Linked DNA regions of Homo sapiens: regions 1, 2, 3, 4, 6 and 7 are each linked to region 5. The links are contacts of gene promoters, found by promoter capture Hi-C in blood cells and fetal thymus (Javierre and others, 2016). All regions are on one chromosome and are shown on one strand. The core of a region is centred on a gene start or on the middle of the fragment in contact, and the rest is flanking DNA. Distances in the headings are between cores, read along the strand shown. Region 1 overlaps PCCA (propionyl-CoA carboxylase subunit alpha). Region 2 overlaps GGACT (gamma-glutamylamine cyclotransferase). Region 3 has its middle 7.1 kb from the start of GGACT. Region 4 overlaps PCCA (propionyl-CoA carboxylase subunit alpha). Region 5 holds the start of CLYBL (citramalyl-CoA lyase). Region 6 overlaps GGACT (gamma-glutamylamine cyclotransferase). Region 7 overlaps PCCA (propionyl-CoA carboxylase subunit alpha).

Evidence for each region. Contacts are between HindIII fragments. The CHiCAGO score rates a contact against its expected background, and 5 or more counts as called.
Region 1: a contact is called between a fragment that was not itself captured here and the fragment with the promoter of CLYBL in region 5, in 2 of 17 cell types (naive CD8 T cells and total CD8 T cells). The highest score is 6.4, in naive CD8 T cells.
Region 2: a contact is called between a fragment that was not itself captured here and the fragment with the promoter of CLYBL in region 5, in 1 of 17 cell types (fetal thymus). The highest score is 5.0, in fetal thymus.
Region 3: a contact is called between a fragment that was not itself captured here and the fragment with the promoter of CLYBL in region 5, in 2 of 17 cell types (fetal thymus and activated CD4 T cells). The highest score is 6.1, in fetal thymus.
Region 4: a contact is called between a fragment that was not itself captured here and the fragment with the promoter of CLYBL in region 5, in 1 of 17 cell types (naive CD8 T cells). The highest score is 6.3, in naive CD8 T cells.
Region 6: a fragment that was not itself captured here is called in contact with the fragment with the promoter of CLYBL in region 5 in 1 of 17 cell types (naive CD8 T cells); the score reaches 7.4 in naive CD8 T cells.
Region 7: a fragment that was not itself captured here is called in contact with the fragment with the promoter of CLYBL in region 5 in 5 of 17 cell types (non-activated CD4 T cells, total CD4 T cells, naive CD8 T cells and 2 more); the score reaches 8.8 in non-activated CD4 T cells.

The regions. Positions count from the first base shown.
Region 1 is chr13:100,235,014-100,238,463 of GRCh38, reverse strand. PCCA (propionyl-CoA carboxylase subunit alpha) reads right to left here. Exons shown (of 24, transcript NM_000282.4): 8 at 2,586-2,622. Among named protein-coding and RNA genes, the nearest start is that of PCCA, 150 kb to the right of the region's middle. The HindIII fragment of the contact is 3,132 bases long and covers 1-2,960 here.
Region 2 is chr13:100,569,229-100,572,659 of GRCh38, reverse strand. All of the region lies in intron 2 of GGACT (gamma-glutamylamine cyclotransferase), which reads left to right. Among named protein-coding and RNA genes, the nearest start is that of GGACT, 18 kb to the left of the region's middle. The HindIII fragment of the contact is 846 bases long and covers 1,127-1,972 here.
Region 3 is chr13:100,594,254-100,597,598 of GRCh38, reverse strand. No RefSeq gene overlaps it. Among named protein-coding and RNA genes, the nearest start is that of GGACT, 7.1 kb to the right of the region's middle. The HindIII fragment of the contact is 569 bases long and covers 1,727-2,295 here.
Region 4 is chr13:100,203,020-100,206,416 of GRCh38, reverse strand. The region is part of intron 6 of PCCA (propionyl-CoA carboxylase subunit alpha); the gene reads right to left. Among named protein-coding and RNA genes, the nearest start is that of PCCA, 120 kb to the right of the region's middle. The HindIII fragment of the contact is 1,559 bases long and covers 882-2,440 here.
Region 5 is chr13:99,604,728-99,608,220 of GRCh38, reverse strand. CLYBL (citramalyl-CoA lyase) reads right to left here and starts at 1,531. Exons shown (of 9, transcript NM_206808.5): 1 at 1,464-1,531. The coding sequence starts at 1,525. LOC105370332 (a long non-coding RNA gene) reads left to right here and starts at 2,372. Exons shown (of 3, transcript XR_931674.3): 1 at 2,372-2,459. RefSeq lists a silencer at 1,191-1,750 and enhancers at 1,472-1,766, 1,689-2,668. The HindIII fragment of the contact is 13,725 bases long and covers 1,041-3,493 here.
Region 6 is chr13:100,539,671-100,543,131 of GRCh38, reverse strand. The region is part of intron 2 of GGACT (gamma-glutamylamine cyclotransferase); the gene reads left to right. It also overlaps the pseudogene RPS26P47. Among named protein-coding and RNA genes, the nearest start is that of GGACT, 47 kb to the left of the region's middle. RefSeq lists an enhancer at 67-246. The HindIII fragment of the contact is 3,470 bases long and covers 364-3,461 here.
Region 7 is chr13:100,517,863-100,521,506 of GRCh38, reverse strand. The region is part of intron 22 of PCCA (propionyl-CoA carboxylase subunit alpha); the gene reads right to left. Among named protein-coding and RNA genes, the nearest start is that of PCCA-AS1, 39 kb to the right of the region's middle. RefSeq lists an enhancer at 1,605-2,270. The HindIII fragment of the contact is 2,940 bases long and covers 663-3,602 here.

The sequences.
Region 1 (3,450 bases), core at 145-2,644, 630 kb before region 5:
AGGAAAGAGAAAGGAGTCATAAAGGATGTGCCCAAGTACAAAGAAAAAAGACTTAGATTAGATTAGGTAACTTCAGTAGGAAAAAATAAAAAATGAAAAGGAGGTAAAGCACAGCATTAAAATATTGAGGGAGGAAAGCAAAGTGATGAGAACTAGTTAGACAGAGGCCCATCATGATGAGCTGGTTATCTTAAAGGTGACAGGTTATAACGAAAGTGGAAAATGGCCAGGTGCACTGGCTTATGCCTGTAATCCCGGCACTTTGGGAGGCTGAGGTGGGCAGATCACCTAAGGTCAGGAGTTCGAGACCAGCCTGGCCAGTATGGTGAAACCCCGTCTCTACTAAAAATACAAAAAAATTAGCTGGCATTGTGGTGTGTGCCTGCAATCCCAGCTACTCAGGAGGTGAAGGCAGGAGAATCACCTGAACCCGGGAGGCAGAAGTTGCAGTGAGCAGAGATCGCACCACTGCACTCCAACCTGGGCAACAAGAGTGAAAAGTCTGTCTCAAAAAAAAAAAAAAAGAAAGAAAGAAAGAAAGAAAGTGGAAGAAAAGGCATAAAGGAAGCAAAGCAATCCACGGCCTGCTATTTACACAAAGGGAATGCTCGCAAGTCCAAAATTCACCATTCAAAATGTGGCACTGCAGTGTAACTGTAAATTTTCTTCTAATCCCTTTATTTCCCTAAATTTCTCTAAATATTGTCCTTTATGTAGATACTGTAATAATAATAATAACAGTATTATTATATCCAATGAGGTTGATAATAATATCTAACCTAGAACTAGAAAAAGAGCTTTTTAAATGTAAAGATGTCTGACAGGATGGAATTAAACTATTTTAGAAAACTATCCTCAAAAGCCAGTAGGTATATTATATGCCTCTTAGGCAATGAGGAATACCAGTGATTTCAAACCATGAACAGAAACTTTTGATTTTTCTCCATAAAGAAACCACAGAATCAGTTCTATATAGTCCAGTTTATTTAGCAGTCGAGCAAATGTTCCTATGAAGTACTGATAGGCTTTTTGAAATGTTAATGATTCTGAAAAAAAAAATGAAGAGATGAGGTAGTCAGATAAAATAAGATTTTCTATGGTCTGGTCTTAAATCCAGGACCTATATCAATAAGATAGATTTTTGCAAAGCAAACAACAAAACACACTTAATGATGGGCAAAGCCCAAATAATTTAGACAGTACCAACTACAAACAAGGGTGCAATAAGCCAAACTGCTTTTCAGGTCACTAAAGACCTGCTAAGTTAGACTGTCCCATTTGCAAAGAACACGCTTACTAGTACAAGTGATCACTTCCAGACCAATAAGATATTTCTACATATCACAACTATATGAGCTTTGCCAAATCAAATGCTCTCTAGAGGCAGAAAATAGATCTAAATAATCTTAGTGAGAAAACAGGCCTACAGAAATGTTCGTGTGGCACGATGAGATGCTTGGACTGAGGCGTACAGGAATGCTGAGAAGACGCTGGGATCCCTACAAGCATTGCCTAATTTCTCTCATCTGTACAAATTTCTGTCAAATGTATACAATTACTGATTTGATTATTAAACCTGCAAAGTTATTTAACAATATTGTTAATCCATATAATAGCATGCCCTTACACATTTTCTCAATTAGCAGATACCAAAAATAGTTCTCATGACCGCCAAGAATATTTTTAAAATTAAAAAGTTGCGAGCCAGGGGCGGTGGCTCACGCCTGTAATCCCAGCACTTTGGGAGGCTGAGGCGGGTGGATCACCTGAGGTCAGGAGTTCGAGACCAGCCTGGCCAACATAGTGAAACTCCATCTCTACTAAAAATACAAAAAATTAGCTGGGCGTGATGGCAGGCACCTGTAATCCCAGCTACTAGGGAGGCTGAGGCAGGAGAATCGCTTGAACCTGGAAGGCAGAGGTTGCAGTGAGCGGAGATCGTGCCATTGCACTCCAGCCTGGGCAATGACAGCAAAACTCCATCTTAAAAAAAAAAAAGGAAAGAAAAGAAAAAGAAAAGAAATTAAAAAGTTGGGAAACACTGCCCAAATACAAGTACATGTAAAACAGCCATTAAAAACTCCTCCAGTCTACCTTTTATTCCAATTTAGATCATTCAGTTCTAATTTCCCACATCTATTTTATCTTTCCCATCTAACAAGATTAAGTTGATACCTAACATCTTAGCAAAAGGCAAAAACTTAAAGAACTATGTCACATATGGTATCTTCATTTTAATCCAAATGTTCTTAATTTTAACAAACCACATTCAACTATGTACATATAAATTGACATTAAACTTATATCCAATCTTTAGAATTCTTAAGACAATTCCTTCTTTGAATTAGCCTGTGATCTCATCTTACAAAAGAGTTATGTATAGTTAAGGTCAAATTACTCTTTACAGTCTCCTTTAATAATAGAATTTGGCAATTCAACTGATACATTCTTCCAGAGCAACAAGTAATCAAAATCTAAAACTATTAAAGTATTATTTGCTCTATGGGAATTACTTATTACCTGTTGACTCAACCGTATCTGCTGAAAGACACAGAAATCCTACCAAAGTTAATTTAAGGACTTACCAATTTCCCTTGCAATTCTGACAGCTTCTTCTGCATCCTGTAAAAGCAGGAAATGAGACTCAACATTAATCCCATGAGGCATTGCACAATGTCTTTAGGGCAGTCATATATTGCACTACTGTCTCCTCCGATTCATTTAATGTTCAATTTTACTACCTTCTAACCCTTTTCATTCAGAGAAATGTAAAATTAATACCATAAGTGGAATGTAAATTCTACCTCATCATTATTATATTAAGAAACTCAAAGCAGTTGAAATGAGCTGGCAGGAAGCACTACCAGAATTGCCAATGATTTGGTGCAGTTGCCGGAATTTAATGGCAGAATTTAGATGTTTACAATCAATACTGAATCATAAATCAGGTCATTAAAGCTTGTCCGCAGCCAGCTTGTTTCTGTCCAATATTATGTGTCATGTTTTCCTAGATTCTGTCAGCAGGGGGAGTTGATTCTCTATTGTTTGGGAGTAGTTGATCGATTTTGCAGAAATATGAAAGTTAATTTCCAGTACCTACAGGAATTACGAATTGTTCCAAAAAATCCTTTTGGTAATCTGCATTACCTTTTCTTTTCTATTGTTTCTTTCTTTTTTTTTTTTTTCAGGTACATATTTTATCTCTACAATTGTATCTTGTTACATAAATTAAAAAAAAACTTTAATTTCAACGAACCAACTACTGGAGGAAAAAACTCCAAAAAGCAAAAGAAAGAAAATACCTTCCTAAACAGTAAGGGGTAAAAGTTTATCCATTTAAGGATTAGTTATTGCTAAATATTAACCAATGCCACTTCTACCTCTAAGAAGATGAAAAGACAAAAACTTCCCTTGAATCTAAGTAATTTCACTGATCATTAACCCTCACCT
Region 2 (3,431 bases), core at 300-2,799, 960 kb before region 5:
AGGAGTTTGAGGCTGCAGTGCACTATGATCACACCTGTGAATAGCCACTGCACCCCAGCCTGGGCAACATAGCAAGACCCTGTCTACAAAAATAAATAAATGTTTTAAACATTAACACATAAATTTTACCATCTTAACCATTTTTAAGTGTACAGTTCAGTAGTATTAAGTATATTCACATTGTTGTGCAACCAACCTTGAGAACATTTTCATCTTTTAAAACTAAAATTCTATATCCATTAAACAACTCCCCATTTTCCCCGTCCCCCAGCTCCTGGTAATCACCATTCTGTTTCCTGTCTGTATGAATTTGACTACTCTAGGTATGTCATAAAAGTGGAATCTTACAGCATTTGTCTTTTTGTGGACTGGCTTATTTTGCTTCGCATAGTGTTCTCAAGGCTTATCCTTGTTGTAGGATGGGTCAGAATTTCCTTCCTTTCAGTCTTTTCAAGGCTCTGTAATATTCCATTGTGTGTATACCCCACATTTTGTTTATTCCTTCCTCTGTCAGTGGACACTTGGGTTGCGTCCAACCCTTGGCTGATGCTGGGAACGTGCATGAGCTATGTCATTTTTAGTATACTGTGCAGACCAATGCAGAGAAGGGCTTATACAGGTTTTTCCTGCACACAAAAGGTTAAATTTCATAATAAAGAACACCAGTCAACCATACCAGATAACTAGTGTATGGCTTTTTGTATGTTTGAGTAAGTTAAAAAAGGTTAAGACTTATTGGATACAAGATATATGCAAGGCATTATTATATCTGTGATATATTCTATTTAGTCCTTGTAGTTCTGTGATTTATCCTTCTCTCAGAGGGAGTAAGAATTATTGAGATCATGTGTGGGCCAGAATGTATATATACATACATTATCTCCATACATCAATGTTTGAGGTGGGCATTATTATCCCCATTTGTAGGGAATTGGAACTGAGGTTCACAGAGATGAAACACCCTGAACAAGGTCACACAGCTGAAACACGGCAGGGTTTTACATGACTTTGAAATGAAGTACATCTAGTTGTAAAGTGTGTCCTCTGGGCCGCGTGCAGTGGCTCATGCCTATAATCCTAGCACTTGGGGAGGCTGAAGTGGCAGGATTGCTTGAGGCTAGAAGCTTGAAACCAGCCTGGCCAAATGAGACCCCGTCTCTACAAAAATTAAAATTAAAACTAAAAAAAGAAAGTATGTTCTCTGTCTACACCACACTTTCTTCTGCTGCACAGCATACACATCTGTGTTCTGAAGGATATTAGAGCAATATCAAAGAATGGCACTTCTATATGATCATTAGAAAAACTGTAATATCTTTGCATTAAATACAGTCTTTTCAATTTTCCTTGCGAAGACACAGCATCAGTTTGGATGAGTTCATCTGAAATGTATTGCCAAGGCTTGCCTGCTGGGGGATTTTGCAAAATAAATCTCCCTACTTACAAAAGTGTGCTTCTCATGTGCCAGTTCCCATGTATCTGAGGTTATCCTCCTCGACACTGTTATCTTCCCTTTTTTCCCTTCTTTCCTTTGGATTGGCAGAGAGCTAGGACTGTTGTCACTGCTCTCTGCTTCCCTGTCTCTTTAATGCCATGGTGTTTTGGGCTGGAGCTTTGATCCATTCTGGCACTGTGTTTTCACACAGCTCAAGGGCTATAAACTGTCCTCATAGGGGGTCGTTTTCTTGGAGACTGAGCAATCTCTCGGGGAGGCCAATCACAACATTTTCTTACATATGGAATTATTAGATGAGCAAATAAGTAGCGATACATCATCTGAGCAGGCATTTAAGCCTAAGATTCCACGTTTTTGGGTATCCTTATAGCAGCACCCCAGTCTCTGTGGTACAAATTTACTGTATTAGTCTTTTCTCATACTGCTAATAAAGACATACCTGAGACTGGGTAATTTATAAAGGAAAGAGGTTTAATTGACTCATGTTCAGAATGGATGATGAGGCCTCAGGAAGCTTATAATCATGGCAGAAGGAGACATTCCTTGGGATTTTATAAACCTAGAGGATGGGTAAGGACCCAGACTGCTTCCAGAGATTCATTTGAGGTCTGATATAATTTGGCTGTGTCTCCACCCAAATCTCATCTTGAATTGTAGTTCCCATAATCCCCACATGTTGTGGGAGGGCAGGTGGACATAACTGAATCATGGCAGCGGTTCCCCCCCATCCTGTTCTTGTGATAGTGAGTTCTCATGAGATCTGATGGTTTTATAAGGGGCTTCCCCCTTCATGGGGCACTCATTTTCCTTGATGCCACCATGTGAAAAAGGACATGTTTGCTTCCCCTTCCGCCATGATTATAAGATTCCTGAGGCCTCCTCAGCTATGCTGAACACGAGTCGATTAAACCTCTTCCTTTTATAAATTACCCAGTCTCAGGTATGTCTTTATTAGCAGTATGAGAATGGACTAATACAGTAAATTTGTACCACAGAGAGTGGGGTGCTGCTATAAGGATACCCAAAAATGTGGAAACCACTTTGGAACTGGGTAACAGGCAGAGGCTGGAGCAATTTGGAGGGCTCAGAAGAAGACAGTAAAATGTGGGAAAGTTTGGAACTTCTTAGAGACTTGGAGGGCTCAGAAGACAGGAAGGTGTGGGAAAGTGTGGAACTTCCTAGAGACTTGTTGAATGACTTTGTCCAAAATGCTGATAGCAGCATGGACAATAAAGTCCAGGCTGAGGTGGTCTCAGATGGAAACGAGGAACTTGTTGGGAACTGGAGCAAAAGTCACTCTTGTTACGCTTTATCAAAGAGACTGGCGGCATTTTGCCCCTGCCCTAGAGATCTGTGGAACTTTGAACTTGAGAGAGGTGATTTAGGGTATCTGGTGGTAGAAGTTTCTAAGCAGCAAAGCATTCAAGAGGAAGCAGACCATAAAAGTTTGGAAAATGTGCAGCCTGACAATGTGATAGAAAAGAAAAACTTATTTTCTGGGGAGAAATTCAAGCCCACTGCAGAAATTTGCATAAGTAACAAAGAGCCAAATGTTAATCACCAAGACAGTGGCGAAAATGTCTCCAGGGCATATCAGAGACATTCTCAGCAGCCCCTCCCATCACAGGCCTGGAGACCTAGGAGGGAAAAATGCTTTTGTGGGCTAGGCCCAGGGCCCACATGCGCTATGCAGCCTCGGGACATGGTGCCCCCCTGCCTCCCAGTTGCTGCAGCTCCAGCTGTGGCTAAAAGGGTCCAGTGTAAAGGTCAGGCCATTGCTTCAGAGAGTACAAGCCCCAAGCCTTGGCAGCTTACACGTGGTGTTGGGCCTGTGGGTACATAGCGGTCAAGAATTGAGGTTTGGGAACCTCTGCCTAGATTTCAGAGGATGTACAGAGGCACCTGGATGTCCAGGCAGAACGATGCTGCAGGGGCAGAGCCCTCATAGAGAACCTCTGCTAGGGCAGTGCAGAAG
Region 3 (3,345 bases), core at 762-3,261, 990 kb before region 5:
TCCCCAATAGGTCCTCTCTTGCTCCATGCCACATGAGCTGGGGTGGCACAAAGACTGGGACCTGGAATGAATCATCTGTGGTCTTGGTCACCCACGTCTGGCAGTTTGTGCTATTGGCTGTGAGCTCATCTGGAGCTGAGACCTGGAATGCCAACACGTGGCCTCTCCATGTGGCTGCTTAGGCTTCCTCACAGCATGGTGGCTGAGTTCCAAGAGAGTCAAGCAGAAGCTATGTCACCTTTTCTGACCTAGCTTTGGCAGTCACAAAGTGTCTCCTGCCATCATCATAGGTCCATTCAGATTCAAGAGGAGGGAACGCAGACCTCACTTCTCCATGGGAGGCATGTCAACATCACGTTGTAAAAAGAGCACGTGGAATGGGAAATTTTGTGATGGCATCTTAGAAACCCAATTTCCCCCATAGACCTACATAGCGTCTACCTTCCTCTTCTAGATTATTCTTGGGAAATTAAAACGTCAGCATGTCGAGTCAGAGTCTTAACAAAGGCTCTGCCAAAGACGACATCCAGCAGGTATTCACATCACTGGAGCATCCCTCCAGGCACTCTATGTTGCAGTGGTGCCAATCTGGGGATTTGTATTTTGAGGCATATCACTCATTTTCCCCACTCAACCACGCAGACAGTACTGACCTCCTGCAATAACATCACAGATCTCCATTTCTCTCTTCATCCTCTTCCAGTTGGCTTCCACCTTTAGGGGCATGCACTTCCACACAGGTGCCTATCTTTTGGATTAATGAGCCTCCCTCCCTCAGCAGGCTCTTTAAAACAGGGTATAGCTTTTCAAAGCCAAAATCCATCCTGACTCACATTCTACCACATGCTGAGTTGATGACACCAGAGGCAGGGATTAGAGTGATGCTTCTACAAGCCAAGGAACACCAGGGGCCACCAAATGCTGGAAGAGACAAGGAAGAATTCTCCCTTAGAGGCTTCCAGGGTAGCGTGGCCCCTGCCAATACCTCGATCTCAGATGTCCAGCCTGCAGAACTGCAAGAGAATGCATTTCTGTTGTTTGAAGCCACCCAGTCTGTGGGGCCTTGTTATGACAGCCCTAGGGAACTAATAGAGCAAGTCACTTAATCTTTCAGCACCTTGGCTTCCTTGTCTGTAAAATGGGGAATGTAACTTTTTCACAATTATTGAGATGTTTACGTGAGAAAAGACATATAGAGTCCTGGACCAGAGCTTGGTATATCAAAATATTTGATAAATAACTGAAGGGGGGAAAACCCTTCACTTTTCCTATAATTAAATGACCCAGAAATAATTTCAGATTTATATATATATATTTTTTTGAGGGGGGTAGACAGGATCTCGCTCTGTCACTCAGGCTGGAGTGCAGTGGTGCGATCTCAGCCCACTGCAGCCTCAACCTCCTGGGCTCAAGCAATCTTCTTGCCTCAGCCTCCTGAGTAGCTGGGACCACAGGTATGTGCCACCATGCTGGGTTAATTTTTTTTTTTTTTTAGTAGAGACAAGTTCTCCCTATGTTGCCCAGGCTGGTCTTGAACTCCTACTTCAGCCTCCCCTCAAAGTGCTGGGATTATAGGCGTGAATCACCACACCTGGGCAATCACTTATTTTCTGACTAGTTCAAGTAGTTTTAATCAGTTACTTTGTTTATCAAAACTGCCTGAGTGTCCTACATTTCTAATCATTTATTTTTAAATATGTGGCATTTCCCAAAGACCAATAAAGCTTTCTTCTTCCCACTTGTGATGTGTTTGAGAAAATGTTTTCTCTCTTGATTTAAATTCTACTTTTATCCATCTTGTAAAAACAATTTTGTCTCAGCAGTTAAATTTTGATAGCATTAATTATGATGGCTAGACTTGAGATTTGTCTTGAATATCAAAACTGCTCATTTCTAGAACTTTCTGATAAAACATACAGATGATAGCTTTCACAGTACTGGCCTAGGAAACTGCAGACCTCGGCAAACAAGGTGACAGGGTAGAAAAAGCATGGGAACAGGTGTGTGAGAGCTGTGCTAGGATTAACTTCACTGGCATGTGTCTTTTATTTTTAAGTTCCAGCAATCCAATTAGATACAAACAACTCCAATCCTTCCTTTAGTTACTTGGAACCTGGGATGAATCTGTTAATTACTCCATGCCTCAGTTGCTTCTGATAAAAATAATGGTAGTGACACAGGATTTTCTTCTCAGTCATTTTGCAAGATGCAACACCCCACCCAGGCCTCACTCAACCACACTACCTGCTGCAGGACACAGCCTGCCCACTCAGCCTGCCCAGGCCCGGTCAAGCTTATGCACTGATTCCCCAGTTCTTGTCTTACACCCAAGAAGAATGAGGATGCACTGACAATCAAAGCGTGAGCAAGGCGGGGTTACTGAATGATGAAATAGCTTTCATGGAGAGGGGACGCCGGGGTGGTGCCCCTACCCAAAGGTGGGAAAGTTCCCCTAATATGGCTGAGTCTGAGGCTTTTTATGGGCTCAGAATGGAGAAGGGGCAGGCTGTAGGTAATATTGGAAAAGGCAACATTTGATTAGTTAAAAGGCATAATTCAGAAAGAATCAATTGGGAAAGGATGGGCAAAAAGGAACAGAAGTTCTCACTCTGGGTTGCAGACTTCATCCGGGACCGGCAATCCGATCTTTCAGCTTTCAGGCTGTTTTTGGCCTGAAGGTGGCGTTTCACTGGGGACCTGCCCTACCTGCCTAGGCATTTGGCTGCCTCCTGTCACTATCAGTAGTTGTCCTTGCTTTGGTTAATTTCTCCTCTATGAAATAAGATTGGACTAACCCAGGAGTCTTCAAAAATACCTAGATGCTTTATCCTTTTTTAAAAAAACATGAACTCTTATAGAGAAGTCCACTGGAAGAAGTTATAAAGGTGAGCTGCTTTGCATGCTTATGCAAATCCTCATCAAAATCTGTTGTGAAATATCATAATGTTTGAAATGCCAACACCCGCATGGAAATAAAGTATTTTGAAGGTTTCTAGTCCTGATATGGCCTGATCAGTTAAAAAGGTATCTCAGACTGAAAAAGTAAACTTCTGCCCCCTGCCATCCATCAGGCTGAGATAGCACAGATAACGACAGCAGCAGAGGGAGCGGGAAATACGTCCTCCAAGGACACACGGATGTCATATCAGGTCAAATCACCCCCGTCCTTGGGTGCTTGCTGCTTTCTTACTCACTGAGAGGCTTCCTTCTGGAAAAGCATTGACTATCAGAAGGTTTGCTGTTTGAAATCATCAGGACGGAACCATCTCAACTTACCCGGGGGATCCGAGTCTCCTTGAAACAAACAAGCAGCCTCTATTTCCAACCTGGGTGCAGAACTTCCCT
Region 4 (3,397 bases), core at 412-2,911, 600 kb before region 5:
TGCACGCCTGTAATCCCAACTACTCTGGAGGTTGAGGCAGGAGAATTGCTTGAACCTGGGAGGTAGAGTTTGCAGTGAGCCAAGATTGCACCACTGCACTCCAGCCTGGGCAACAGAGTGAGACTCTGTCTCCAGAAAAAAAAGAGGACACTAGAATAATAAGATAGCTAGGTCCACAGGACTCTAAAATAATATTATAGGAACCCAAATGCCTAGAATTTGCTGGTGTTACAAGTGGCAGGATGCTAGACAAGAAACCCTTTCAGCCCTAAGAGGTGCTTATAAAGTATCTCTCTATCAAATGTTTCTGTATTTGGTTTTAGTAGAACCTTATTTTCATGGAAAAAAAAAATCTTATGCAAATCCCCAAAAATGTAAAGCACATACGTAGGAAGTAGCGCTGCTCTGTATGAGGAGATAATAGAGGTAAGCCTACACCTCTATCAACTCTACGTCTCCAGGTGGATACATGAATCATTTCGGACCAGGACAATAATCATATTCATTTCTCTTTATCCAAAACCTGAAACCCACTAAACACTAAGTAAAGACAAGAGGAAACAATCATGCTTCAACCATCAATTGTCTTTCCATATTCTCATTTTACTTGCAAAGATGGAAAATTTTATTATAAATGCTGCTTTAAAAACGACTATGCCAGGCAGATGTAATCAAGCAATCAGAGTACCCACACAAAGAATTGAAGAAATAACATAAATGAGAACATCCAAAATACATTATGATTATACAGTAAAACTTCTGATTAACAGGAGCCCAACGACCTGGAACACTGATTAACCAGATTTTTCTTGTGCATTCTAATTTGAGGAAAATTACTCACCCAAAAATGTAAAATTGTCAAAAAAAAAAAAAAAAAAGCTTATATCAAGTATTTAGTGACTATTTTTTGTCCCACCCAATACAAAAGAAAAATAGCCAGTAGTATGCTGGATAACTACAAATGTTTCAAAGACTTAACTTCCTTTTTATCAATGTGTTTTGGAAGTGCTCCCTAGATTGGCCTTTAAAAGTAATTAAAGCAAAATGAGAAAGCAACATTAGAGGCTCTTGGCTCCCATAAATCTGTAACCAAAAAGGATGAGGTCAGGATAAGAGAGTATGGTAACTGCAGTGTGATGGAGCATGTTTCAAATGTTTTCAGTTCTTGACCAGGCAGCGGTGTGACTTAGAATAAAAGGCCAGATTTTATCCACTAGTAACCTTCGATACTCTTCTGTTAACCCGGTATTTTTTGTTATCCATCTAATTATCAGTTTCCCTTAATCACTGTAAGTTTTTTGTTATGCAATAGCAACTAAATTTGTTTCCAAAAATATGCTTTTTAAGGTCCTTTTAAATTTACCTTGCATGATACATATAATATCTGAATACAAGTAAATGTCTTATGATCACAAAAAGTGGGCATTTTTCATCATTAAAGTGATTCATTTAAAAAAAAAAAATTATGAGCCAAGTGTGCCTGTAGTCCCAGGTACTTGGAAGGCTGAGCCAGGAGTATCTCTTGAGCCCAGATACTGTTCAAAGCTGTTGTGCGCTATGATGGCACCTATGACTAGCCACTACACTTCAGCATGGGCAACACAGCAAGACAAAAGAAGAGAAAGAAATTATGAAAAGCTGAAATCACTGCTCCAAAATTCTACTCATTTCCTAAATTCTGTGACTCTATGGTTCTGGACAAATTTTAATAGAAGAATGGGGGAAAGGGTTGGGTTTGAGCAGTATGTTAAGGAAATGAGATTTAATTTACCATAGGCTTTATGTCAGGAATGAAGGACAGAAAGAATCATTGTAAAAATTAAAATGTATGATACATATTTCATTCTTAGAAATACCACAAGTTAGTAAATTGCTATATTATGAATTCAGATTTTAAAGCGTATAGATTTTAGGCTTACCAAGAGTTGCTACTTGGATAACTACAAAACCAGGGTCAGAAGAAAAAGACAGCCATGGGGCTGGGCACAGTGGGTCACGCCTGTAATCTCAGCACTTTGGGAGGCCGAGGCAGGTGAGCTGCACGAGCTCAGGAGTTTGAAACCAGGCTGAGCAACATGGCAAAAACTTTTCTCTACAAAAAATATAAAAATTAGCCAGGCATGGTGGTGTATACCTGTGGTCCCATGTGGTCCCAGCTACTCAGGAAGCTGAGGTAGGAGGATTGCTTGAGCCCAGCGGGTAGAGGCTGCAGTGAGCCGAGACTGCACCGCTGCACTCCAGCCTGGATGACAGAGCAAGACCCTGTCTCGAAAAAAAAAAAAAAGCCACGGAAAAACAGCTGAACTGTCCAAAAGATCCAGATTGTGGTTTTTAATACTATTCCATGATAAAAGAAAAGAGTGTTTCTGGTAGAAAAGGCCAGTTCCAGGATTGGTTCAGGAAGTTAGCACATGAGATAAACTGAGTCAGAAAGAAAGCTTTCAAAAACTAATGTAGCAGATAGAAAGGAGCACCCACTGAATATAGTGATGTCAATAGGAACATCAAAAAGAATACTGGGGAGATTACAGGGTTAATTCATTCTTTTCAAGACCTCAGAATAAACCACTTCCTGCTATCTCTACTCGTGTTTGAACTTCTTGGACATGAGTCACTGATTTTAAAATACATGGCTCTTTAAAAAGAAATGTAGAGAAAAACCAATTTTACACATTAAACTAAGTGAAATAAAATATCAAGGTAAAATCCAACATAATTTTTTTTGTTTTTTGTCTTGATACGAAGTCTCACTCCGGAGTGCAGCGGTGCAATCCTGGCTCATTGCAATCTCCGCCTCTTGGGTTCAAGCAATTCTCCTGCCTCAGCCTCCAAGTAGCTGGGACTACAGGCACCCCCCACCATGCCGGGCTAATATGGTTTTATATTTTTAGTAGAGACAGGGTTTCACCATGTTGGCCGAGCTGGTCTCGAAATCCTGACCTCAAGTGATCCACCCGCCTCGGCCTCCCAAAGTTCTGGGATTAAAGGCGTGAGCCACCATGCCTGGCCCCAATACAATGTTTTTATAAGGCAAAGAAAAAGGGACCAGAGTAACATCCATGTAGGGCAGGAAAGCACAGGAGAAAAACATACCAATACAATAGATCAAAACTATCATCTCATTTCTTTTTTTTTTTTTTTTTGAGACGGAGTCTCACTCTGTCACCCAGGCTGGAGTGCAGTGGCGCGACCTCAGCTCACTGCAACCTCCACCTCCCAGGTTCAAGCAATTCTCCTGCCTCAGCCTCCCAAGTAGCTGGGACTACAGACGCGCACCACCACGCCCGGCTAATTTTTTTTGTATTTTTAGTAGAGACGGAGTTTCATTATGTTGGCCAAGCTGGTATCGAACTCCTGATCTCGTGATCCGCCTACCTTGGCCTCCCAAAGTGCTGGG
Region 5 (3,493 bases), core at 282-2,781:
GACGCCCTGTAATCCCAACTACTCCGGAGGCTGCGGCAGGAGAATCACTTGAATCCGGGAGGCGGAGGTTGCAGTCAGCTGAGATGGCGCCATTGCACTCCAGCCTGGGCGACAAAAGCGAAACTCCATCTCGGAAAAAAAAAAAAAAAAAAAAAAAAAGAAGTTCCAGACCACCAGGCCGGCCATGGTGGCTCACGCCTGTAATCCCAGCACTTTGGGAGGCTGATCCGGGTGGACCCCCTTGAGGTCAGGAGTTCGAGAACAGCCTGGCCAACATGGCGAAACTCTGTCTCTACTAAAAATACAAAAATTAGCCAGGGGTGGTGGTGCACACCTGTAATGCCAGCCACTCAGGAGGCTGAGGCATGAGAATCGCTTGAACCCAGGAGGTGGAGGTTGCAGTAAGCCGAGATTACACCACTGTACTACAGCCTAGGTGACAGACCGAGACTCTGTCTCAAAAAATAAAAATAAATAAATAAAGAAGTTCCAGACCAGGAGCCATACACTTAGTGTTTGAACCAAACTCTCTCATTACTGGTCATAGGGCTTTGAGAATCCTTAACCTTTCTGACCCTGTTTTTTCATCTTTATAAACATGACACCCAACTTCTTCACATGGTGGTCAAGGGAACCAAATGAGACCATGTATGTGCACGTACCTAGGCGATGGGCAAGTGCTAGACCAGCGGTTCTCAAAGTGTGGTCCAAAGACACCTGAGGGGGTCCCTGAGACCCGTTGAGAGGGTCTGCTTGGTCCTCCCTTTCCCAACTAATATCTGCATCTGCATGAGCCCAGAATTTCTTTCAAATATTTCCTTCAAAACAGCTGATATGAGACTCCAGCTGTCCTTTATTAAACCAAAGAAATTTTCAAAAATATAAAAACCATGAGCCAATCTTCTCACTTTTTTTTTGAGAAGTTATGCATTAAAGTGTTATTTGTATTAAAAGTTAATGGGTTTGTTATTAAGTGAATATTTTTTAAATTTCTGGTTTAATTCCTCATGCACAAAAATCAATAGATATAAGCAAAAGCTTTGGGGGGTCCTCAAATTATTTTTAGACGTGTAAACGGGTCCTGAGACCAAACCGTTTGGGAACCGCTGTGTTAAACGAACCGCAGGTGTTCTTCACCAGGCAAGCCGCCTCTCAAAGACTGGCGCGTTCACGTTTGCCATTTGGGGGAGGCAGGCAGTTTTGTTTCCTGGGGCTGAGTCCAGGTAATTCGACCTAAGGTGTGTACCCATTTTCCGGGTGCAACGAGGGCCCTCCCAAAGGGAGGCGCGGGCGGCAGCGACCTTGGACGAGGTCGAGCCAGCGCGTGGGAGGCGCATGGTGCTTCCGTCCGGCTGGGTTCCCGTGAGGGCTTGGGGAGGCCGCGCCCGGCCCGCGGGGCTGCAACAGGAGCCGACCCGCGGCGAGCCGGGCCGGGAAGGCGGGGAACGGGGACCTGCACTCACAGCCTCAGCAGCGCCGCCGCCGCAGCTCCGCGCGCCGCCCTCCGCAGCAGACGTAGCGCCATCTTCCCGACGCGCGCGCCCCGCCCTTTGCCTTTAGCCACGCCCACCCCACATTCCACGCCCCCACGGCGACACCGACCCCCCCCCCGTCCCAGGCCCCGCCTCGCTCTGTCTTCGCCCCGCCCCGTCCCGCCAGCCACACCCCGCCAGCCACGCCCTCCTTCCTCCCAGCACCCGCTCCGCCCCGCGGCGAGTCCCGAGGTCAACTGCCCTCCCGGCCAGGGCTTAGGACCTTCGTCCCCGCTGTCATGGGGGACAGAGCAGAGGATCTGAATGGTTGGGGCCTCTTTGAGGGGCCTCTCTGGTGACCGAATCCAACTCTCTGAGCTTCTGAGTTTTTGAGGCAACTGTTGACAGACTGCGTTTTCCCAGCCAGAAGAGCCAACATTTCTAGGGATTTCTTCGCAGCTTTTGTTGTTAAAATACCGCCTAATACTTTGTGAGCCCCATCATGTGCATATCTTGGTTAGCAATTAATCTAGAGTGGTCAAAGTGCAGGAAGGCTGCATCCTGGAACACACATGCCTGCAATAGGTCAGAGCAGCTGTTGGCACTCTCTGGGCAGGGAAACTGACAGCAGCTCTTTACTCTGCCCCCTGCAGCCGTTCTGCAGCGGTGAGAACGCCGAGGCGTTAAAACAGGCTGGGCCCTGCCCCTGCCTCTTCTTTCACCTTCCCTGATCCAGCCGGCCTCCACCTGCCGACCTTCACCTACCCGGGCCCATGTTACCCCTTAACCATGTCTTTTCCTTGGCACTCGGCATGTTTCTTTTTCAGCTGTGACTCCGTTCCATTCATGCTCTAGACTTAAACCTGAAACCGTTTCTCAGAACCTTCCAGTGGAAGCTGACTTGTGCTCTTGGATGCAAAAAGTGGCCGTTTAAACAAACAAAAGCCTTTTCAGCCAGAGGGGGTTCCAAGATTTGGAAAAGTCCAGGTGACTGGGAACATGGATGCTAAACTTCTGCTGAGCCTAAGAATTATTGTTATATTCGATACCAACAGGGGAGACTGCTCAACCCCTTGGTGCCCTCCCCCAGCTCCCACGCCTGCTCCACCTCAGGCCTCGCCTGTCTACTCCAATTTGGTCACTTTCTTGTCACCACCTTAGTCCCAGCCAGTGCCCGGTCCAGCCATACTGAAGCCTGAGGCAAAGGCAATTTCAGTAACACCAATCCTGTCTTTAATTAAAATTTTGATATTTTGTTCATAATGGGATTTTTCCATTATCTTGGTTTTTAGTTTAGAATATTACTTTTTTTTTTTTTTTGAGACAGTCTTGCTCTGTCGCCCAGGCTGTAGTGCAGTGGCACGATCTCAGCTCACACACTGTAACCTCCACCTCCTAGGCTTGAGTGATTCTCACCCCTCAGCCTCCTGAGTAGCTGGGACTACAGGCAAGTGCCACCACTTCCAACTAATTGTTTTGTATTTTTAGTAGAGATAGGGTTTCACCATGTTGGCTAGGCTGGTCTCGAACTCGTGGCCTCAAGTGATCCATCCGCGTCAGCCTCCCAAAGTGCTGGGCTTACAGGCATGAGCCACCATGCCAGGCCAATATTACTTATCTTTTTTTTTTTTTTTTTTTCTGAGATGGAGTCTCGCTCTGTCGCCCAGGCTGGAGTGCAGTAATTACTGAGACTTCTCCTTAAATTTTGCATCCCAGGCTGGGGCTGCACTCACCTCACTCAAGTCTGATTCTGGACATCATCATCCTTTACCTGGATTATTTCAAAGCCTCCTTGCTCCCATTCTTCCCTCCTACAATCACCCGTTTGCCATAAAACCTGGCTGACCTTTTAAAAGCATGACGCAGCTCCTAGTTCCAGAGTTGACTTGCTGTGTGACTTTGGTCAAGTTTCTTAAGCTCTCTGTTTCCTCATCTATAAAATGGGGGTATAAATACCTCATCACCTCATAGGCTTGTTATAATGATAGACTGAGTTTACATATACATAGAGAGAGACTGCA
Region 6 (3,461 bases), core at 849-3,348, 930 kb before region 5:
GTTCGGTTCACCTGGTCTGCGTATGCATGCTTTTAAACGTGTACCAGGCATATGAAGTGGTTGTGATTTGTAAACTATCATCATAAACTCTTAAATCCTGCCTTTTACACTCTTGCCACCAGGTGGCTAAGAAAAAAGAAATCAAGAAAAAAATCTAACAGTTATGCAAAGGACTCGTAATCACTTTCAAGTTCTGCTTCAGTGGTGAAATATGAAACTATAGACGGACTGCGTTTCAAGAAGGAGAACTGCTGAATAAGTGACAGGCATTTCAGGCAGCGCCCGACCAGATGGACAGCTCATGAGTCTTCTTATTTTCTCAAATATTGGCAATGGGAAACCAGATTTTGCTGATCTAAAGCTTTTGGAGACTCTCTGAGCCTGTTCCACCTCCATGCTGTCCCCTGGATGCCGCTATTGTCCGGACCAGTTAGCTTTGGGACAGAGGTTCAGCTTTGGCCTCTTGGATTTCCAGAGTGGAGGATGCCTGAATCCTGACCACAGCAGCAGGCCGCCCTTATCCTTAACACATCAGCATCAGGGAACGACATCTGCAGAGATGTTCAGTGCCCTCAGAATTGGCTCTAGGAACCCAAAGTAAAATTCTCCAAACTGATGTTAAGGTCTCATGCATGTCATTCTTTGATTCTGTGTATTAACAGTAAGATGCTATGAGGAAATCCGTGCACGAGGGATGACAGCGTGGCAGGCTGGAACACGCTTTTTAGATTTACTTTCGTGGACTGGATCTGTTAAGAGTAAGGCCAGCGTCCTAGGGCACAAACCGTGCTCTCCCCAACGTTTCCACAGCGTCATGAAGGACGATCTTGTCCCATGAAACAAACCCTACCCGTCTTCTTGCTGGGGGGGTCAGCGGCTGCTCTGCTTCTCCTGTGCACCCGGGGTTGCTCTTCAGTTCTCTAACTTAGTAAGTTGGACTGGCAGCCTCTTGGTTGTACACCATTTTATTCTTGATTCGCTTTTCTGATTCAAAGTGAACCTGAGTGCCTTAATCCTCTAAGGGGAATTAATTGCTTGTTTCAGTGCTTAACTCTGATCCTGGCTCAGTCCCCATGGGGACAAGTTTCTTCCTGTTAGGATCTGTGTGTGTTGTTCAAAACACAATCAGAAAGGTAATGAAGTTTTTCTTATGACAGAAGCCAGAAATGCAGGCTATTTTCTTTTCTATTGCATAAGTAGTGTTCTCAAACTAACTTTATGTTATGAAGGATGCTATTGAACTCAATACATAAAATGTAGAAAATTTTAGTTGGTCATTCTAGCAGGCTGGATTATTTCCTAGAAATGAAGGTTAACTTTTATTGCCTGGTTTTATTTTACAGAAATAAGCTATCATCTTCTGCAGAAGACAATTACTGAACTGATTTTCCAGAGTTGGAATTAACCTTCTGTGGCCTAATCACCTTCATTTCTACGTAATATCACCCTCCCAAGCATTTTTCTTGGTTTTGGAAAATCATTAAGGCCACAACCACTACTCGATATGCCTGATGCCCTCTCCCACTTATAATGTGTTCATTTTTATTTTTGAGAAGACTATAGCTAGTAGATATTTCTAGAAGATGTTGATAAAGGATGGAGTTAAGTGGAGACCTGAGGAGGGAGCAGGGATAAGGAAGGGCCAAGGGGAAGAGGGAATTCACATTCATCAGGTGCTCATGCCTGCACAGTCGGCAGTCAGTGGAGGGTAACTCTTTGGGGTAAATAGGAGGAAATGGAAGCTCAAGAACTTGAAATCACTTGCCCAAAGTCCCACAGGTGCTCAGGGATGGAGGCAGGAACTCAAGTCAGGCCTGTTATGGCACAGTGGATTGTTTGATACTTGCCCTGCACTCTGTCCCTAAATGCCCATCTACAGAATTCTGAGGTTGCCTTTCCTGATGCTGGCCCTGCAAGGGCTGGGCTCACACTGTGTCTGATGCAGCAGGGCTGACTTGGGGGCAATTACTTCACATTAAGGTAGAGACCAAGAGAAATACTTGTTTTAATCTGGAAAAACTCAGATGGCTTGCCTACAGCCGTTTCTTACCATTACTCATTAAACCAAGCCCTTACATTTTATCTGAGACCCTGACTCTAACCCTGTGCCATGGAAAAACAAACAAACAAACAAAAAACTAGCATGGTGAGAGGGGGCAGGGTTGAAGACACAGTAACATGTGGCTCTCAGAAGGTGGCATCCCCTTCTGCAGTGGCAGTGTCACCCCTCCCAGCCCGGCCCAGGGGCCTGGTGCACCCAAAGAGGAGCCCGACATTTTCTCAGCCAGAATGAATCACAGGCACATTCTGCTGCGGTTCTGAGAGGCATCTGGCCAGTGTTATAGACTTTTCATGTGTCCTGTTGGTTGTGATCCTCACAGCAGCCCTTGGAGATGGGCTGAACATGAGAGACAAGGAACAAGAGTACAAGGAGATAAGAAGCTCAAAAAACAACAAACAAAACCCAAAGCTAGCAGAAGGAAAGGAACAGTAATGATTAGAGCAGAGATAAACAAAAAGAGAATTTTAAACAACAGAGAAAATCAGTTAAACCAAGAGTTGGCTGTTTGAGAAGACTAACAAAATTGACAGACCTTTAACTTAAATAAAAAGAGAGAAAAGATCTAAATAACTAAAACCAGAAATGGACGAGAAAACATCACGTCCTACAGAACAACACATCTTGCAGAAATAAAAAGGCCAAGAGAATATTATGAACAATTATGCCAACAAATTGTCTAACCTAGATGAAATGGACAAATTCCTAGAAAGACACAACCTACTGAGACTGAACAGACCTACAACTAGTAAAGAGACTGAAGCAGCAGTCAAAAATCTCCCCCAAAAGAAAAGCCCACTCTCTCTCCGGTCCGTGCCTCCAAGATGACAAAGAAAAGAAGGAACAATGGTCGTGCCAAAAAGGGCCGCGGCCACGTGCAGCCTATTCGCTGCACTAACTGTGCCCGATGCGTGCCCAAGGACAACGCCATTAAGAAATTCGTCATTCGAAACATAGTGGAGGCCGCAGCAGTCAGGGACATTTCTGAAGCGAGCGTCTTCGATGCCTATGTGCTTCCCAAGCTGTATGTGAAGCTACATTACTGTGTGAGTTGTGCAATTCACAGCAAAGTAGTCAGGAATCGATCTCGTGAAGCCCGCAAGGACCGAACACCCCCACCTCGATTTAGACCTGCGGGTGCTGCCCCACGTCCCCCACCAAAGCCCATGTAAGGAGCTGAGTTCTTAAAGACTGAAGACAGGCTATTCTCTGGAGAAAAATAAAATGGAAATTGTACTTAAAAAAAAAAAAAAAAAAGCCCAGGACCAGATGGCTTCACTGGTAAATTCTACCAAACATTTACAGAATTCACACCAGTCCTCCTGAAACTCTTCTAAAGAATGAAGAAGAAGGAACATTTCAGTGTTGAGCATCACCCTGATACTAAGGCCAAAGACACTCC
Region 7 (3,644 bases), core at 883-3,382, 910 kb before region 5:
GGGAGACTGCAGTATTTGAGCAAGGATGGAACCATCATCAAATTACAAAGACAGACCAGGCGGGCAGGAGACGCCGCCCAGCCCTTTCTCCGGCTGAAGACTCCTTTAATGGCCCATGCACGAGCGGCCTCACTCTGGAGGGCGCGGGAACCCAGGGGCCACCCGTCCAGCCCCGCTGCCGGCTCGGGACTTCAGGCACACGTGCCGTCTGCCTGGTGCTCCCCTTGTCTCTCAAGTGGGGCTCCCCAGAACTGGGCAGCACCCAAGGGGCTAAGGGTAAGAGTACAGACTTGTGGCCGATATAAAACAAGTCCAGTTTCTTTTAAAATTCCTTAAAATGAAGAAAAATATGACTCCCTGCTGCCCTCTAAGTTAGCTCAAAATCAGAGCCAAAGCCTGCAGTTACAAAGAGAACTAGTGGAAACTGATGTCATTCACAATACCTTTGGAAATTAGCCTGGACCCTCTACCTTCGTAAAGCATGCTGCCTGAAAGCGCTCCGTGAAAGGATGATTTTTTGTAAACTTTTATTTTTATTAAAAGAGAAAAAGATAGTTTACATCTTGGTAAGGCTGAGAATGGTCACTTATAAAAATGTTGAAAACAAAGAAAACACCTTCTACTCCCAAGCAGATCACTCCTGAAAAATCAAACGCCAAGCTTGGAGAAGACTCTCCTATAATATTTAATATACTGATCCACATAAATATTTTTTATTTTATAATTATCATTGAGTATATTCAACTGTAAAAATTCCCAGTACTAATAGATATTTTTTTACCTCCTCATCTTTTTCTGCCTCCTCTTATCTACTAATAGATATTTGTTACCTCCAACAAAAACCAACTCTTTTTTTTTTTTTTTTTTTTTTTGAGACGGAGTCTCGCTCTGTCGCCCAGGCTGGAGTGCTGTGGCGCGATCTCCGCTCACTGCAAGCTCCGCCTTCCGGGTTCACGCCATTCTCCTGCCTCAGCCTCCCGAGTAGCTGGGACTACAGGCGCCCGCCACTGCGCCCGGCTAATTTTTTGTATTTTTAGTAGAGACGGGGTTTCACCGTGGTCTCGATCTCCTGACCTCGTGATCCGCCCGCCTCGGCCTCCCAAAGTGCTGGGATTACAGGCGTGAGCCACCGCGCCCGGCCAAAAACCAACTCTTAACATTTAAAAATAAATGTTATCTGGAAAAGATTAAAAGGCCAAATCCAGGGGTAGTCGTTACCTCTGAAGAAGACAGGACAGGAATGAGATGGAGGAGCTTGCCACAGGGGAAGTTCATGTTATATGTAATGTCTCATTGTTAAATAAAATTTGAAACACATATGGAAATGGTGAACAAAGGGCACAGGAGTGCTTGTTGGATTCTTCTCTGTAACTTTCTGCATGTTTGTAGTATTTCATAATTTTAAAGTCTTAAAATGTTAACAAATGCATGGATCTCTGTGTACATGCTGTGAGATACAATCTGAGGTTTGGGTGAAAACTGGCATCTTGTCAAATAAACTGCTTGAATAACTATTGCTATAAAACATATAAATTTAATTACTGCAATTATTTTGTGATTGTAAATCAAGGTATCCAGAAACTGGAAAGTCTATGAAGCAGCCAGGCTAGCCCCTCTGCCAGGGAAAGATGCAGTGAGCGAGCCTGGGCTGCATGAGGCACACAAGCGCGATGCCAGGCAAACACCCGTCGGGAGGGCCCAGCCCTGCCTTCTCGTTAGGATACGTGAGAGCTTATGAAATTTTAAAATCTTGTTTAAGAAATAAAAAATAAAGGTATCTCACCAAGTTTGCCAGTTCTGTATGGTCGGCTATAAGCTCAGTTACATGAGGCTTAGAGACAAAGGGGAGGAGGGGACGTCAGACTCTGAGATGGGATGGGGTGCCTGTGTCTTGTGGCCCTGACTGCACACCTGCTTGGGAGCCTGCCCTGTCAAAGGAGCACGTGCAAGGAGGAAACAAAATCAGGGTGAAGTGTAAGTGGTGTTGCCACCGACGCCCACCGATGTGATGCTTTCCCTGGCACACTGTACAGTAGGCTGTTTCTCGCCTTTAAGGCGTTGTTCACAAGAGGAACAACCGCAGACACCTCACTGTCCCCTGCTGAAGGTCAATTCCATCACGAGGTGGATCTTTTCATCTTAGCCCCACCAAAATATCCCGAAGTCTAATATCGAATGGGCTAATTCGCAAGAAAAAGCAGCAACAGGTACTTAATTTCAATCTATTCTTTCACCTGGTTTCACTAATTGTTAAGAAAGAAAGAAATGCAGATGAGTATATAGCAGCTTATGGTTTGTTTCTCATTTGTTTGGTGTATTAAATGAGTATTTCTGATGCAAATCTGTGATGACTGCAGAATACGAACATTACTTGAAAGAATCTTAACTAAATGCAATATTAAAATGCCTCCTTGGGTGACTATCTTATGGGGTGGTTTTGTTTCTGATATCAAAAGGCTAACAAAGCGAATGTGCTCATCATGACTTTATTTGACTTCAAAGTCAAAGTGAAAATTATGCAATAAATTCAGCAGCTATAAGTCTAATTTGACATGTGGAAAAATGTATTCTACCGTTATTCTGAAAATATATATATTTCTAACATTTCTGTTCAAGAGTATCATAAAGGTAGAAGTTTGAAACAGCTGAGTCATGCTAACTTTGATTACAGAAGTGCTCCCAGTTTACAATAGTGTTACGAGTCTAAGAAAACGAGTTTTCAAACTGAAATGAGTTACTGCAGAAACATTTTCAGAAGGCATATAAAAAGGCACTAAAATTTATTCTATCAGTTGTTTCCTAAATTATATTACTGATTCTGGACCTTAATAATCCACTGTACTTTCTTATTGATTTGTTTGCTTACCTGCATTTTACTGTGTATTAACATCCTCTCTCCACGTGTTCGGAAAAACTATTACACAATCATTTAAAATGTGACCTGCCACATTTAATGTTAAATAGTATATAACAGACACTGAAAAAGTTATTAGGAACTTTTGCTGTGTGAACCCTACAGAAGCCCTTCAAATAAAACACAGCTTCTGTGTTTAGGGCAGGCTGAGTGTTTCAAATGAATCAGTGCACAAGGCCCTGCCACACCAAGCGCCCCGAGCGGATTCACTACTTCTCAACGGCCACCCCACATCTCTTCTTCCTGAGGTTTTTAAACTGTGTTCAAATTGTTTACTTCACAAAACAGATTTGTTCATTACGATTTATGTGACACTTTTTTTAGAACTTATTGCCAGGCCCACCATTCTACGATTGGTCAAGTTTTACTTCAGCTAAGCTAAACAGAAACATGATAGATTACTGGAATTTAAACGATAAAAAGTAACATTTCAAAGAAAAACAGAATACTTGTAAGGCCCTTAGTTGTTTTAGGGTCCTTATTTTCCTTGAAAATACACCAAGGAGACTGACTCCATTATCTTCCCACCCATAAAAGGGGAACCTCGCCCGGCTATTGTTAGTGCGGAGGAAAACACAACACGCCCCGCGGTGTTAAAATCACTTAAAACCGCAAAATTTCAACGTGACAGGTAGTGTTTCCTCACAATGGCCTCAAGTAAGTGACGTGCCTCTGGTCCAAGGAAGCTTCTTGTGTTTTAATTACACTAAGCAGAATTTAACTATAGAAG